Linked DNA regions of Homo sapiens: all the other regions are linked to region 1. Evidence: promoter capture Hi-C in 16 types of primary human blood cells and fetal thymus (Javierre and others, 2016). All regions are on one chromosome and are shown on one strand. Each heading gives the region's core, a stretch centred on a gene start or on the middle of the fragment in contact. The rest is flanking DNA. Distances are from core to core; before and after follow the strand shown. Region 1 holds the start of LRRC70 (leucine rich repeat containing 70). Region 2 has its middle 2.5 kb from the start of DIMT1. Region 3 has its middle 200 kb from the start of LRRC70. Region 4 has its middle 140 kb from the start of LRRC70.

Region 1 (2,700 bases), core at 100-2,599:
CTGAATTTTTCCCAAGAAATTGAAAAATCCATGGGACAAGCTTCATATCACCTTGTATATTATTGGAAGTACTAAACAAAATGGACCTGAGAAACATAGCCCCTACCTCAAATTCATATCATTTCTGTCACTTGTTTTGTTTTCCATTTTTAATGCATAAAATAGCAATAACAGTAACCAGCCATAATGGATAGGTGTAAGAATCATAAGTCATTTTGATAACGATCTGCTATCCAGTATGCATTGCTGAATTTTTAGTCATAGAAAGATAATGCTAGGTATTATTTCAGCTTTCTAATATGGACATAATTCATATTATTTCTAAAGTAATTGTTGATGTGAAATGAAACTGCTTTAATATCAAAGGAGAGTTGTATACAATTATATAACTTGATATTTTAGGAATATTATCAGGCTATTAGTAATATTAATAAAAGTCAGAATTAGAAAGCTTAAGCAACTAGCTTAAAGTTAATGAAAGAAAGTTAATGACTGAACAATATATAATATAAACAATTTATATCCGATTCTTTAAATTCTTGAAAAATGACGTTAAAAAATTCTCCATTTTTGTTCTAAAAGATTCAAACTGATACAGATATATATAGGGCGAAACATCGCCTCTTTTACTCTCCCCAATTTTTCTTGCAAAGATAACCTATGTCAGTAAGTTGGTATGCAGCTTCTTAACATCTTATAACCCAACACAACCAATTAGTGCGTTACTACTAATTAGTAGCTTACTACCAATTAGTACCTCACGTATTAAGTAGTACTCAGTATTTTTTGCAACCAAAAATATTTTGAAAATTTTAAAAAGAGCACTGGAGGATAATATAACAACATTTATGTTCATTCTAAATTTTTTCCCCTATTTTTATTAAAGGAATAAAGCATAAAGTTTAAGTCTTCAATGCGTATTTAACACAACATAAATATTTTATTCATTAAAAAGTTTACAAAAAATTGTATTACTCGATATACATCTTATTTGAACTAGCCTTTTCCATTCAGTAGCTATGTTGTTTGATAGCTAGAGTCTGTTGATTGATATTTGGGTTCTGAATAACTAATGTTTTCAAGTATCCTTTAAAAACTATTATTTTTATATTATAGGAGATATTTCAATGTGTATATTAGGAAAACTCTAACTGCATTCTGAAAAAATAAGTTCCTGAGATTTCCGTTCAGCAATACTTTTGAAACACAGATAAAATTACTTCCTGTCTCTTAGCTTCCTGTATCCATGGCAACCTCTGTTTTACACATTGACTGTAAAGGAACCAATGTGAAGAGTGGTGTTTCCTGAGCAAACGGTGACTTAAAAAAAAAAAAAAAAAAGTGGTGGGGTGGAGGTCAGCAGTGCCACAGAACAAACTGGAGTTAAGAAATGTCGTTCTTCAGATTTAAAAAGAAAACCTTTACTGAATCAGCTGAGTGTTAATAATACGAATTTCCTTTTCTTGGTAAGATTATTTACTTAAATATGAACTTCTAGCTGACATGAAAAATAGTTCTGTGAAAAACTGTAATTTAGAATTTAATTGTTCTGTAGTGAATTTGTATTTTCATAAATTATAATGTTATTTGATATTAGACTTTATGTTGTTAAAGGGACATATTAAATTCAAAGATTCTCATTCCTACATCATTTGTCACCTGTGTTGTAATCAATTGTAATTTTTAAGTTAACTTAGCAAATGTTTCATTAATCTGAACTATTTTGTCAAATAGTGGGTTAATGGCCTGATCATGTTAATAATTCTAGAACGTATTCCATACTCATTATTTTTTGCTATTACCATGGTATGATTTATGATAGTATTATTGGCTGATCCTAATTAAAATAGAATACAGAAGTTATAGTATTATAAAAAAAATTCATTTGATGAAGTTTTCGTGATTTAAAGCTTTACCTTCTCTTTTTATAGCCAATTCTGATCTGAACAGAAAATCCAAGAACAGGGATATGTGTGGATTACAGTTTTCTCTGCCTTGCCTACGACTGTTTCTGGTTGTTACCTGTTATCTTTTATTATTACTCCACAAAGAAATACTTGGATGTTCGTCTGTTTGTCAGCTCTGCACTGGGAGACAAATTAACTGCCGTAACTTAGGCCTTTCGAGTATTCCTAAGAATTTTCCTGAAAGTACAGTTTTTCTGTATCTGACTGGGAATAATATATCTTATATAAATGAAAGTGAATTAACAGGACTTCATTCTCTTGTAGCATTGTATTTGGATAATTCTAACATTCTGTATGTATATCCAAAAGCCTTTGTTCAATTGAGGCATCTATATTTTCTATTTCTAAATAATAATTTCATCAAACGCTTAGATCCTGGAATATTTAAGGGACTTTTAAATCTTCGTAATTTATATTTACAGTATAATCAGGTATCTTTTGTTCCGAGAGGAGTATTTAATGATCTAGTTTCAGTTCAGTACTTAAATCTACAAAGGAATCGCCTCACTGTCCTTGGGAGTGGTACCTTTGTTGGTATGGTTGCTCTTCGGATACTTGATTTATCAAACAATAACATTTTGAGGATATCAGAATCAGGCTTTCAACATCTTGAAAACCTTGCTTGTTTGTATTTAGGAAGTAATAATTTAACAAAAGTACCATCAAATGCCTTTGAAGTACTTAAAAGTCTTAGAAGACTTTCTTTGTCTCATAATCCTATTGAAGCAATACA
Region 2 (2,700 bases), core at 10-2,509, 170 kb before region 1:
ACCAGGGCCATAATATCCACATCTGTTTTGCCAGCCAGTGTAATGGCTCTTTTAAATTTTTCTGTGTGTATTCTGTTTGGTTGAAGAAATAGCTTCTTCCTGTCATTACTAAAGCTAACTCTCTTTTGAGCAATTCATTGTGTACATTCCCAAACCTTGGTCTTAGGCCCTTCTTTCTTTGATGTAGTTCTAAGTCAGAAAAAAAATCTCGTATACCCTAGTAGCATCTTCAAGTATATGTTTCATTTCATCAATCATTGTTATTCCACAATTCTAAAGAGTACACTGTGCTAGGCACTTCCAAATGTTAATAGGATGGACATGGCCTGGAGAGGTGGCTCATGCCTGTAATCCCAGCACTTTGAGAGGCCAAGGCGAGCGGATCACTTGAGCTGAGAAGTTTGAGATCAACCTGGGCAACAAAGTGAGACCCCGTCTCTACAAAAAATACAAAAATTAGCCAGGCGTGGTGGTGCAGGCCTGTAGTCTCAGCTACTCGGGAAGCTGAGGTGGGAGCCTCACTTGAGCCCGAGAATTTGTAGTGAGCCAAGATTGCACCAACCTGGGCGACAGCATGATACCCTGTTTAAAAAAAAAAAATTAACATGACACAAAACCCTGTGTGTGATTTGTTATTGTTGTTGTTGTTGGGTTTTTTGGTTTTGTTTTTTTGAGACGGTCTCACTCTGTCACCCAGGCTGGAGTGCAGCGGCATGATCTCAGCTCACTGCAACCTCCGCCTGCCGGGCTCAAGCGATGCTCTCACCTCAGCCTCCCGAGTAGCTGAGACGACAGACATGAATCATCTTGTCCAGCTAATTTTTGTAATTTTTGTAGAGGCGGGGTCTCACTTTGTTCCCCAGGCTGATCTCAAACTTCTCAGCTCAAGTGATCTGCCTGCTTTGGCCTCTAGGTTGCATTTCTTCTGTGAAATAAAAGGCAAGTTTTTCTGTAGAGAAGGAGCTGTGGAGGTGGTAGGACAAGGGGCATGAGTGCGGAGAAGGTTTGAAGATCCTTTATGCGCAATGGGAGAGGAAGATTAGAGGGAACTCAAGAAGACATGGCATGTCTTCCAGCTAAATGTGGAGCCCAGTATCTCCAATGTGTACTGCTGTGTAACCACAGCCTGGAGACAAGAGCAGAGAAGGCAAAATTGTTCTTTTGATTCATCAATGAATGACCACTATTGCTCCCTAGAATAGCATTGTAGGCCTTTCAAATTAAGTTCCTATTTACCTTACTTATTTACTTCCCAACGTTATCAAGTTCCTTTTTCTTCCTTAAACATCTTTATACCTCGGCTTTGTGAGTGCTCTTCCTTTTGCATTCTCGACCTTCCCCTGGCTAACTTTTGTTTGCTGTTAAAGACACAACTCATATATATAATATAAATATATATATTTAAATATAAATATAAACATATATAAATATAAATATATATATATATATATATTTTAAGATAGAGCCTTGCTCTGTCACCCAGGCTGCAGTGCAGTGCCATGATCTTGGCTCACTGCAACCTCAGCCTCCCAGATTCAAGCTATTCTCATGCCTCAGCCTCTCAAGTAGCTGGGATTGCAGGCGTGCACCACCACCACGCTGGCTAATTTTTTTTTTTTTTTTTGTATTTTTAGTAGAGATGGGTTTTCACCATGTTGCCCATGCTGGTCTTGAACTGGCCTCAAGTGGTCTGCCCGCCTTGCCCTCCCAAAGTGCAGGGATTACAGGCATGAGTTACCGTGCCTGGCTTCAAATGTTATATTTTTAAAATAGTGGCCCAGGCTGGGTTGCAGTGAGGCAGACGTTGCAGTGAGTTGAGTTTGCTCCACTGCACTCCAGCCTAGGTGACAGAATAAGACTCCGTCTCAAAGAAAGAAAGAAAAGAGGGAGGGAGGGAGCGAAGGAAGGAAAGGAAGAAGGAAGGAAGGAAAGGAAGAAGGAAGGAAGGAAGGAAGGAAGGAAGGAAGGAAGGAAGGAAGGAAGGAAGGAAGGAAGGAATCCTGAATACTATAAACAAGATTCTTCTATGAATGTATTCTTTAGAATGATCTAAATATGTGGCTGGGCATGGTGACTCACGCCTATAATCCCAGCACTTTGGGAGGCCAAGGCGGGTGGATCATTTGAGGTCAGGAGTTCGAAACCAGCCTGGTCAACATAGTGAAACCCTGTCTCTACTAAAAATACAAACATTAGCTGGGTATGGTGGTGTGCACCTGTAATCCCAGCTACTCTGGAGGCTGAGGCAGGAGGCAGAGGTTGCGGTGAGCTGAGATTGCGCCACTGCACTCCAGTCTGGGCAACAGAGTGAGACCCTGTCTCAAAAACAAAAACAAACAAACAAAAAAGAATGATCTAAATATTTTTAGATAATCATAAAGACTATGTTAGATTAATACAATTATTTAAAGAAGATGATTATGGTCTCTGTTTAATACCAGCATAGGTGTAAACCTTGTCAGTGAATATTACATAATTGATACCTCTCAAAAACATTTGTCAGATAAATGTTTCCACATCATTACCATTGTTAAAAGAGAAACTAAGGCACAGTAAAATCTTAAAATGTTTATTTGAGCAGACAGTGATTCATGAATCAGTTTGGGACTCTGTTAAAGGCGCACCAAAGAAAGGCTTTTATAGGGTGAATGTGGAAGCATGGCAAATAAAATACACTGAGTTGGGTTTTGGTTTGCTTCT
Region 3 (2,700 bases), core at 27-2,526, 200 kb after region 1:
GTGCAATGCCACATGCAATTGTGTCTCTCTGTGAGCCAGGAGTTTTGCTGAGTATGTGTAAGTGGGTAAACTTAATGGTTATTTTGTAGCATCATTTTTTAAATGTGGTGGGAGAATCTGTGATTTAAGGAGTTTTATGGCGAATCTCATTTTGTGATGTAAATAGTCATTTTTTGAGTATAAATCCAAATTTTTGTATGCTGTTGGCCTAATGAGTTCCCTATCATAGACAATATTAGGTGATGGCAGGGAGGTGGGACTCCAAGGCTTTCATTGTACATGTAAATTAGAATGGCTAATTGAAGCAGATATCCAGATAATTCAGACCAAACTCTCCCTTTTTGTTTGAAATATACTTGGCTGAGTTGTTTAAAAAAACAAAAAACAAAAAACAAATCTGTGCTTCTTTTCTTAACCACGACCTCAGCAATCGTGAGCAAAATGTCTGAGGGAGTGTTCTAACAGGCCTAAGAGGAAGCTCTTAAAAGAGAGACCTGTGGTCATATAGACTTGAGAAACACTTCCTACTTGTCCCTTCTTTTGGAGAGTCATCATGCATTACAGACTATGAAAAGTCCTGCACAAAGGAAAACTTTTGAACTTAGTTTAACCCAGTGTTTTCTAAACTTCTGTGACAGACAACCCTTTATTTACATAAAATTTGCTAACTTACAGTCAAACTGGTGTTCTTTGAAAGTCCATTTTGAGAAATGCTGGTATAAATTAAAGCGGTATTTATATAGCCACAAGTGCTAAGAGTGCTAGTCAGTAATCCTAAGAAGCCAAGGATGATGGGGCATGAATGTCCACAGTTTCATACTGCTGCCACTGGTAGTTTGAGGGATTTGCTAAGGGGATCCTCCAGGCAAACACTGGGTTTATAATGGTTAGGCTTTATCCCCAAAGAGAAAAATAACCACTTAGTGGGCTGAGATTGGCCCATTAGTTTTCCCAGAGTCTCTTTTTCTCCTGAGCATCTCCTCCCACCCCAAATTTTTGCAACTTTTTAAGGGGATGAGAGGGATGGGGTGGAGCATCTTTTCCCAAGTGGAGAGATCCCAAGGGCTCTGTCATGCAACACCGGGAAAACAGAAAACGTTAAGTAGAGACAAAGCCTTGAGCTCCCCCTAGAGGTAAGTATCTGATCATCTCTACTGTGGCAAGACACGAAAATACCATTTGTTTTTTTTTAAGATTTACATATCATGGACATCATTTAAAGTTCGATTTAAGAATCACCTGAATATTTTAGTTAAAAAGTAAAAGAGTAGTTATCTTTTAATATTAGTGCTTATTTGAGTTTAGATATTATTTTATAACTTACATTGTACCTCTCATCAGCGAAATAGTTTGAAACTGTCTCACTGTAAGTGTATATATTCTTTTTTCAAAATATGTACATGTAGTATTGTCATTCTGTATATTAAGTATTAAGAAAGTCTAATTTCCCTACAGCTGTTACAATGTTTACCAATAGCTACTCCTGTCTAAGGGCTATGAACTAGTCGGAATCTGCATGTTTTTGGTCAGAAACAGCCACATAGGGTCAGTACAGATGACCCAATCTGCAAATACTATGTCTTATGGAAACATAACTTTGGTTAATGTGACTTTTATGAGGATTTCGAATGCAAATTCTTCATCCTTATTCCCAAACTGAGCCACTGATGCACATTTATTTATTTATTTATTTCCTTTATTTATTCACCTGTATTTGGTAAACAGCAGGCACTTCTCTCAAATGTTATGACATTAAGGGATGCCTTACGACATTCCCTTAGGGTGCCTATGACATTTGTGATTCTGTTAAGATCACTTTGGCATTATGGTTGGTCTAACTTTGTTCACGAATGTGTTGTGTTCTGTTTTTATGATGTTTATGACCAGAGATGAAAGTAGGCTGTGCTCAGAGAGCTGGTCCCTGTTTAGCCTATCTCCTCCCACATTGTGATTTGGAGAAAATCATTTTCTCCAAAAGTTTTTCAGGGCCTTGGCATTTTATTTATTAATCATGAGATGCTGGCTGGGCGCGGTGGCTGATGCTTGTAATCCCAGCACTTTGGGAGGCCGAGGTGGGCAGATCACCTGAGGTCAGGAGTTTGAGACCAGTCTGACCAACATGGTGAAATCCCGTCTACTAAAAATATGAAATTAGCTAAGCATGGTGGCACACGCCTGTAATCCCAGCTGCTTGGGAGGTTGAAGCAGGAGAATCACTTGAACTGGGGAGGTGGAGGTTACAGTTAGCCGAGATCGTGCCATTACACTCTAGCCTGGGCAAAAAGAGCGAAACTCCGTCTCAAAAAAAATAAATAAAAATAAAAAAAAAATCATGAGACGCTACAATATCCAAAGGTGGACCCACACTCTTACTTATGCTAATGGAAGGGCAGTCCCACGTGGTAGCACATTGAGGCACATGTATCCTCAGGCGTGTGGGGAAGGTGCCGACGGGTCAGCAAAGTCACCATATGATTATAGCACGCCTCCCTAAAGGTTCATATTTCTCAGAGATGTAGGAGGAGGCCGTATTGTTTTGACATTAAAACCAAGACAAATTTGCTTGGGAGCAAATTAAAAAGACATGGAGGTTTACCACAAAACAAGAATGAATTTGGAAGCTTCCAACAGGCCCCAGGGCATACATTCACCGCTCTTTACAGTTAGTGGTGTTCCAATAGAAAGGCTTGAGAAGTGTTG
Region 4 (2,700 bases), core at 103-2,602, 140 kb after region 1:
CAAGCCACATAGCTAGTAAGTGGCAGAGCTTAGATGCAACCCCAGGGAGTTTGGTTACAAGAAATTTCTTCCTTACTCTTCCACTGTGCTGTAAGTGCAAGAATTAGGTCAATGGACTGGAAGGAAAGAGAAGTCTCCAGGGACAAGCGTCTGTAAAGTCTAGGACATTTTAGGGAGCATGGACATGGAGTGGGCTGAAGATTTGATATGAGGCTTGGAGTATTTTGGGATTATGACAAATTCTAGAAGGCAGTTGTGGATGTGGGTAGCTGAAATGAAAGGAATTAAAGGTCATTGAAATTCAGGGGTCTGGAAAGTCTGAGGCCAGGTGTTGGCTGTGACACAGAGCACTGAGGTCATCTATAATAGAAGAGTGGAAGGACTTAGGGTAGAGAGGAAGAGAGGAAACCAGATGCCAGAGTCTGGCAAATGAAGGGGAAGAACTAGGAGGTCAGTAGGCAATGATGAGCAGGAGAAGATGGCGCTTCAAAGAAGGTGGGCATGTTATAAGCGTAATTGGAAATATCATTGATGAACAAGAACAATGCAATACCTCCATTTGATTCTGAAGTTACCTGGGCCATAGGAGAAGGAGCAGCCTCTCAGGGGGATGCTGTAAGTAGAACTGAATTTTAAATTTTAATTAATTTAAATTTTAAAATGGATACTGATTTGGTTATTGGAAAACGTTTAAGCATATTTGGAACAACTTGTGTATTGGAATTTACTTTTCGATTGTAAAGTTTATGAAACCTAGATACCACCCAAGGACTTCTAATGAAAATATAAGCATTCAAATTGAGATGTCCCAGCAGTGTAAAATATACACCGGATTCCAAAGAGGTAGTAGAAGAAAAGAAGGTAAAATATTTCATTCATAATTTTCTTGTCTTGATTACATATTGATGTTTGGGTATATTGAGTTAGAGAAGACGTTATTAAAGTTACTCCCACCCATTTCTTTTTACTTTTTAAATGTGGCTACTAGAAAATTTAAACTTACAGATGGGGCTTACGTCGTATTTCTATTGGGCAGTGCTATTGAGACCAAGGAAGACAGTGATGGGCACTGTACTGGAACTGGCCGCCTTGAGGTCTGAAGTGGAACTTCGTGTCATCATGAGGAAGAGAGAGCCCATGCACGCTGCAGCAGTGTCTATGATGGCAGTGTTTCAGGTGTCATGAAGTCTAGACATAGCGGCAGATGCGTGATGGAGTAGCTGGAATCAGGAGAAGTTATGGACATTTTGTTTACGGGAGTCATTCATATATGCTAATTGCCCATCTTCTAAGTAGAGAAGTATTTGAGAAAACTACTGGAAACAAAACTAAAGGAGTGACTTAGATAATTGGGGAGAGGAAGGATCCAACTCATGAAGGAAGAGGAAGGAGAGAGTAGCAGAGTGAGTGAGGGTTTTAGGTGTGCTCAGGTGTGTCAAAGTCCCTTGTACCAATCTTGGAAGATGCCAAAGTTTGAAAAGACAGACAATACTGTCAAAGATTAGAGAAAGTCATTAGTAGGCTAGACAGTCACACAAAGGGTAAGAACATAGGTTATTAAAGATGAGAGCTACAGGCATCCTTTCAGCTCTGGAAAAAGTATTACTCTTAAAAATGAGAATAGAAATTCTTGGCTTCCGCTAAGTGAAACAATTCTTATCATGGATAGCCTCTAGAGGTAGCATAGACCTCACCTTTTCTAACAGTATTTCCCTCTGGATAGATAGCAGTGTTAGTAAGAACTTTGAAGGTCAGCTTGTGTATATGAATCTCAAGATAAATTGCTCTGATGAATACTTGGGTATATATGTATGCATCTCACTCTCACCTATCTTCCATCGCCTGCCATCTTCCACTTCATGGCATAACATGATTGACATAATGAAGGCTTGTCAGTTTATTGCCCTCCCTGTGCAGCCAAATGCCTAATACGAGGCCACCAAAAGACGGTGGCTATCATGGAGGCTCAAAAGTGGCTAATTTTATATTGTCATTCGCAAGGAATGATGCAAGGATGCCCTGAGGTGAACTGTGTTAGCTTTGGGACTTTTCTGGCCTTAAGTTCCCTGTTCTGCTCCCCAATCAAACTTTATCTTTCTCTGGAGGAATGCTTTTAGGTAATGAAACAAAATAATTTGCTTTATGTGGCCGTGCTATTTGTCAACATCTTCTAGTAGCATTAAACACAATGCTCTATCATTCCTGCTTTCAAAAAGAGGACTTCTAGGACTCACCTCAATCAGGTGCTCAAAAGAGAGGGTTTCCATCTTGTTGGTGGTTGGAGTCAGGTGAAGATGTTTCTGGTCAGGCCATCTCTTAGCCATGCCTATCAACTCAGAATGACATGAGAACTCCCTCCCAGCTGCTCCTGCAGATCCAAATGCCCCCTAAGATAGCCCTGATTAGGAACAAGAGAAGCAGAAGGAGCAAAGGCCATGAGATCGGAGTCCCAAACCTTTTCCATTTATAAGCATCTCTGTGGACTGCATCAGCTGTCTGGCTGCCCCATTCTTTGGCACCTCATTATGTGGAATCAGAAGACACAGAACCCCAGTGGATAATTGCTTTGAGATAACATCTGTTGGCAATGACTTTGGTTCAGGCAGAGCTTAGCTTCTACATTATTAGTCTTTCTTCTTAGTACATTTTTAGGCTACAAACAAATTTCCCTTGACAGTCAAACAAAATTGAGGAACAGAG

Evidence for each region. The method cuts DNA at HindIII sites, captures the fragments that hold promoters and counts their contacts. A CHiCAGO score of 5 or more calls a contact.
Region 2: a fragment that was not itself captured here is called in contact with the fragment with the promoter of LRRC70 in region 1 in 4 of 17 cell types (fetal thymus, naive CD4 T cells, naive CD8 T cells and 1 more); the score reaches 8.0 in fetal thymus.
Region 3: a contact is called between a fragment that was not itself captured here and the fragment with the promoter of LRRC70 in region 1, in 2 of 17 cell types (monocytes and M1 macrophages). The highest score is 11.6, in monocytes.
Region 4: a fragment that was not itself captured here is called in contact with the fragment with the promoter of LRRC70 in region 1 in 1 of 17 cell types (monocytes); the score reaches 5.9 in monocytes.

Annotation. Positions count from the first base shown.
Region 1 is chr5:62,577,470-62,580,169 of GRCh38, forward strand. LRRC70 (leucine rich repeat containing 70) reads left to right here and starts at 1,350. Exons shown (of 2, transcript NM_181506.5): 1 at 1,350-1,466; 2 at 1,932-2,700. The coding sequence starts at 1,970. The region is part of intron 27 of IPO11 (importin 11); the gene reads left to right. It overlaps IPO11-LRRC70 (IPO11-LRRC70 readthrough), which reads left to right and starts at 1,266. Exons shown (of 4, transcript NR_073584.1): 1 at 1,266-1,466. The HindIII fragment of the contact is 1,459 bases long and covers 450-1,908 here.
Region 2 is chr5:62,405,086-62,407,785 of GRCh38, forward strand. No RefSeq gene overlaps it. Among named protein-coding and RNA genes, the nearest start is that of DIMT1, 2.5 kb to the left of the region's middle. The HindIII fragment of the contact is 3,071 bases long and covers 1-2,700 here.
Region 3 is chr5:62,778,016-62,780,715 of GRCh38, forward strand. No RefSeq gene overlaps it. Among named protein-coding and RNA genes, the nearest start is that of LRRC70, 200 kb to the left of the region's middle. The HindIII fragment of the contact is 2,685 bases long and covers 1-2,619 here.
Region 4 is chr5:62,721,452-62,724,151 of GRCh38, forward strand. No RefSeq gene overlaps it. Among named protein-coding and RNA genes, the nearest start is that of LRRC70, 140 kb to the left of the region's middle. The HindIII fragment of the contact is 2,904 bases long and covers 1-2,700 here.